2 separate regions of the Homo sapiens genome follow, and region 2 is linked to region 1. Evidence: promoter capture Hi-C in 16 types of primary human blood cells and fetal thymus (Javierre and others, 2016). All regions are on one chromosome and are shown on one strand. Each heading gives the region's core, a stretch centred on a gene start or on the middle of the fragment in contact. The rest is flanking DNA. Distances are from core to core; before and after follow the strand shown. Region 1 holds the start of MTUS2-AS1 (MTUS2 antisense RNA 1). Region 2 has its middle 120 kb from the start of UBL3.

What was found. Contacts are between HindIII fragments. The CHiCAGO score rates a contact against its expected background, and 5 or more counts as called.
Region 2: a contact is called between a fragment that was not itself captured here and the fragment with the promoter of MTUS2-AS1 in region 1, in 3 of 17 cell types (M1 macrophages, endothelial precursors and M0 macrophages). The highest score is 5.5, in M1 macrophages.

What each region holds. Positions count from the first base shown.
Region 1 is chr13:29,486,331-29,489,030 of GRCh38, reverse strand. It overlaps MTUS2-AS1 (MTUS2 antisense RNA 1), which reads left to right and starts at 1,281. Exons shown (of 3, transcript NR_046378.1): 1 at 1,281-1,531. MTUS2 (microtubule associated scaffold protein 2) reads right to left here. Exons shown (of 16, transcript NM_001033602.4): 11 at 1,026-1,131. The HindIII fragment of the contact is 24,751 bases long and covers 1-2,700 here.
Region 2 is chr13:29,728,844-29,731,543 of GRCh38, reverse strand. No RefSeq gene overlaps it. Among named protein-coding and RNA genes, the nearest start is that of UBL3, 120 kb to the left of the region's middle. The HindIII fragment of the contact is 6,285 bases long and covers 1-2,700 here.

The sequences.
Region 1 (2,700 bases), core at 32-2,531:
TTACGGGTGTGAGCCACGGCTCCCGGCCTTTAATACACACTTTAACAACCAGCTGACTGGGAGGGAAAAGTAAAGCGAGAGAAAGTTGAAAAATAAACTGTACATATTAATGTAAATGCATGTGAAAGTGTAAAATGCTGCCTCTTTCACAAAGGAAAATCTCACTGGAACTTAGTAATGATGCTGTTATGACCCACGTAAAACCCAAAGATAATTCAAAGTTACAAAAATGTAGAAAGAAAGATCTGGAGACTTAACGCACACCCACGGTGAATGTGGTCTATGAGTGTAAGCTCTGGATACCCCGATCCAACCAGATGCTGCAGTGGCCCGGAGAACATCATAAATATGAAGAAAGTGTATCCATGCCGGGGCTTCCATTTGTTTTTATAAGGCAATAAACATCATAAAGCCTAGCCGGGTGTGGTAGTGGGCACCTGTAATCCCAGCTACTCGGGCTGGAGGCTCCAGCTGGGGCTGGAGAATCGCTTGAACCCAGGAGGCAGAAGTTTCAGTGAGCTGAGATCGCACCACTGCACTCCAGCCTGGGCAACAAAGTGAGACTCTGTCTCAAAAAAAAAAAAAAAAAAAAAGAGGAAAAAAAAAAGTGCACGATTTCCATGCCTGCTTTAGACAGTGGCCCTCAAGTGTGGCTACACATTAGAATCCCCTAAGGAGTCTTAAGAAATCTTGATGTTTACACTGCACTATGGACCAAGGACATCAGAATCCCTGGGGTGGGACTGAGGCTGGCATTGGTCTTTTGTTACCGCTCCCCAGGGGACGGGGAATTCCAGTATTCATCAAGGTTGAGGATAACTGCATTGGAGGAAAGAAGCAGCTAACTACCTGGATCCTTAATTCCTATCTCTTCTTTTCCCAGGAGCCAACAGGAAAAAATGCACCAGGAGGGAAAGACAGGAAAGGAGGGACAAGAGAGGAAGGGGGGCTCCACACATCTGCAGCAGGAAAGGCTCGGATTGCACCACCCACCCCTGCCTGCTGCACACGAGGCTGGGAGCTACCTTGGACTTTGTGGTCGTGGTCATCCTGCAGGATTGTGATGGCAACTGTGTGGTTATTTTCCATCTCTAGGAGAGCAGCATCATGGCTGGCGGTGAGATCTTCCACCTGGAGGAGAGTCGCAGTTACTGGTTAGACAGAGAGCTGCTTGGAGAACAGAAGTGGAATTCCGTGAGTGGAAAAGGTCCGTGACCCAAAACATCAATGACAAGTCACAGCCTTGTGCCGAAGCAGGAGAGCTGGACTTTGGTGGTGATGTGGCAGCCCTCGGAATCACGGGGAGGTCACTGCCACAACCTGGCTCTTTGTAGGGGGGTCCAACTCCAGGCAGGGGATCACTGCCTGAGGTACCTCTTTAGAGTCCTGAGTGTGGCTCCTGGACCATCCCCTTCCCACTGCTTGTCCACGCGCTTGCACCGCTATGAGCGATGACGGCAAAGGAAAAGAAAAGCGTCCTCCCTACGAGGTGGTCTGTTTCCCAGTGGCAGGGGGAGCTACGGTACACAAGGTAAGTGGAGGGAACGAATACTTATTAGGCTGTCCGAGATAGGCTACTCTACTTAACCCTCAGAGCCACCTTATGAAGTATATCTTTTTATGCCCAATTGACAGATGTGGAAACTGAGGCTAAGAGAAATATGAAACGTTTTGCCCAAGGGCTAATAAATGGCAGAGCTAACAGTGAGACCCAGGTCTGTCTGACTCCAAAGGCGAGGCTCTTTCTAATGCACTGTTGTTTTGTGTTCACCTCCCCCAAGCAAGACTAGCAACGAACACCTTAGGATTCTCTCGCCAATACCAGGTGAGGCTGGCAGGTCTGTGTGTCTGTTTTTAAACATAAGGTTGCCCACCAGATTATAACTTGGACCTTCTGCTCAGGCAATGTGGTGCTCCTGGGAAGGGCTGCTGCCTCCCAGCTGCAGGAACACGTCTAGCAGTTTAATCGCAAGTAGTGCAGCCAGTCCAGTCCAGGATTCTTCATTTTCATGTTTCCTGACCCCCTCCCCTACCCCTCACCTGCCTGCCTACCAGGTTTACTGTTTTTGTTATTGTCATTGTGGCTGTTGTTTTAACTTCAAATGTATGACTTGCAGGAGTAATTGTCTAAAACGACCTCTCCCTATGATTGCAAATCTCTCCTGGATGCACTACAACGGTGTTTATCCAAATTCTCTGTCAGTGATCCACTGTAAAAATCACCATTGTACACAATATCACAGTGCACACACCCACACACAACCATACCCAAAACCAAAGTTTCACAAAAACAAAACTTCCCCTTCCATTTGGAAAAATCTGGTTTAAAAATGTTTCCTCTATTTTACTTTGTTTTACAAAACGCTAGTTAGAGGCCACTACATTTATTTCACAAGCTAATAATGCATCAAAACTTGGCATTTGAAAACCACTGAACTAGAAAATGTGCACTGGTCTTGAAGCTCCTTGGTGGCCCAGTTAAGAAGACATTGCTTCTAGCTGGTCATATTCAGCCACCTCTGGGCTCCCACATTTCTCTGGGGGAGAATTCACAGGCTAACCTTTGATCTGAATGGAGAAAGGGCTCTCCCCAAGAAAGGAAGCCTGACTGTGAAGTTGACACGTGAGGATATATTTGTTTTAAAAAAGGGTGGTTTCCCATTCTGCATACTATAATTTCATCAAACAATTATCCTGACT
Region 2 (2,700 bases), core at 8-2,507, 240 kb before region 1:
CATCTTCCCATGCCCTGTCACCAAAACCCAAACATGATGGGAAAGAAGAAGGGTTTCCTTTTTGCTCATATGCTTGCTATGCCTCCCAACAATACAATATATTCCTCAACTTTCCCCAAGTCCCACGTCCCATCACATCGGGCAGTTCCAAGCCATGGGAGTCTGGGCAGACACAGGAGAATGCATGCTTTTTTCTCTCGAAGCCTTCATGGGAAATTCCCAGAATTCTATGGCATAAAGCTGTCTATTTTGTTCACTCTCTATTTCCGGAGCCTACGCAGTACCTGGTACGTGGTAGACACTCAATAGCATTTCTTGAAGGAATAAATGGAGGACTAAATGAAGTTTTCCAGAGGAGACACTCACATGCCAAACATCCTATGTCCATGTCCAGATGCTTCCATTTACCTCTGAAGAAATTTCTCCTGTTTGTTTTTGTATCTTTCTTCCTTGAAGTGGAAAAAAAGTCAAAATGGAGAAATGACATTTTTGTCAAATCATGAGGCATGAAAGTAAAAGGACCAGAGTGTGGCAAATCTGGGAAGGTGACGACGTTTGATGCCTGACTCCCCTGCCAGGGTCTCATCCGCAGTGCCTGCCTCCTGACCACCTCTCCATTTCTCTTTCCTCCTGCCTGTCTCTTGCTTCCCCATCCCACTCCCCTGATCTCCAGGGCTCAGCTGTCCATTCAGCTGCCTAAAATGTAGCTCATGAGGACTGAGCCCTCCTAGAATTATTTGAATTTAGTGGAAGATTCTTGAAGAGCAGCCCACATGAGGGGTAACATTTCCAGAGGGGAGGAGCAGGTGACTTAGGAAGACTTAATTCTCCCACCTCAAATTATCCCAGAGGCAGCTATGTATTCCAGCCATTCAGAAGGCTCTATCCACCCATCGATCATGTTGATGAATAAAATTGGATTAGGACCCAATGGATTCTCATATCACCAGCCAGTTAAACTCCCCTTGGCAGATGAACATCTTTTCCCTATTTGCAGCAAAGCCTCAAAGACAGCCTGGCATCAAACCACCAGAATATTGCAAACTTCAATATTGCAAGATTGTCTTCAATGAGGAACTACCATCCATTCACCCATCTATTCCATTCATTCATTCGCTAAAGACCAGTGGTGAAAAAGAGAACTACATGTCAGTCCTCCAGCAGCTTACAGAATCAGGGAGAGAGAGAGATAGTAACCAACTAACCCAAGAAGTGAAAGAAACACCTGAGATAAAGGGAGGCAGGATATGGGGGTTCATCCTGCAGGAACCACAGAAGCTGGGTAGGTCGAGAGGTGTCTACCAGAGGAAGGAAGAGAAGGAGTTAAGGGTGGAGAAAAGGGAGAGGAGATTCCATGAGGAGAGAGCATGGCTTATTTGAGGTACAGAAAGCAGGCTGCAGTGGCTGCAGTGCAAATATCCAGGTGGACAGAAAAGAAAAAACCAGACCATTTGAGCTCTTCGGGGCTATATTGAATATTTTTATCTTAAGCGCAATAGAAAGCCATGGGCCATTTCAAGTGGGAGAGGTGCAGTGATGCTGGTGCACACTGAGATGTTTTAAAGCTATTCACACATGACTGGGCTTTTCTTCTTTTGCACTCGTAAGTCAGAGCATCTCTTGCTGGGGTGAATTAAGACGGTGCTTTCTTGGAAAGCAAAGACAGAGCCAGGGTCAATGTTCCACCATCGACTTCCACTTCAGAGATCATAGAAATAACCAAAGCTCTGATTTTTAAGAGCAGAGCTTTTAGTGACTCAAAAGGCAGAGCCCTGAAAAGAGCAGGGCAACAAAGTTCATTCAAAGGTGAGTAGACAGTGATCAGCTGGAGTAAATGCAGGAGGAGGGGAGTGGACTAAGAGGAGAAGAACAGAGGCCAGAGGGCCTTCTTGACCTGTGGGAACCACATCAAGAGCAAAGAAGAGCCTGTGTGGAGAGACTGCTCACCCTCTGCCCCCAAAAACATCAGGGAGTCTGTGGGGACCCAGCCAGGCTTCCCTAACCCAGCCACAGACTGCCCATATCTGGGGGAAAGCATGTGGCTTGTCAGTGGCCTGGGCTGAGGGGCCATCTTCCCAATTGCCTGCACTTTGCTGTCACTAACCCAGCAGAGGCAACACCCCTTTTTGTTCAGTCCATCCAAACTATCCTCTCAATTAAATTGCTGATGACCTATGTACATTCCCTTCCCAGAGAGAAAATAGTAACAAGGACATACCCAAATGGGCTAGTGATGCTTTAGATGGAAGAGATCCCTCATTTCTGTATGTGGATGAGAATAACAGAACACCCTGGGCTAAGATAGCATTCAGACCCATTCCTGCTATTAATGTAATTCCTTTCCAAGGTCACCCTTGCTGCTGGATGGAGAGCTAAGTGCCACGTGGCCAGAGCAAAGGCTGTGAGAACAGGCAGGAGGTCATTGCAGTGGCCCAGAGAAAAAGTGGCAGTAGCTTGGCTCAGATGGTGGTGGCACTGAGGATGAAGCGAAGGACGGGATTTTAAGATGTTATTGAGATCCACAGATAGGGTTTAATGAAGGAGCAGAGGAGGAGAGTCAGATAATTGTATTACTTAGGTCTCTCCTATAATGCTGAATAACAACTCCAAATTCTCAGTGGCTTACAATAATCATTTATTTTTCTTGTTAATAGTTCTGCAGGTTGGCTGGGGCATTTCTGCTTCAGGTTGCAAGTGAGG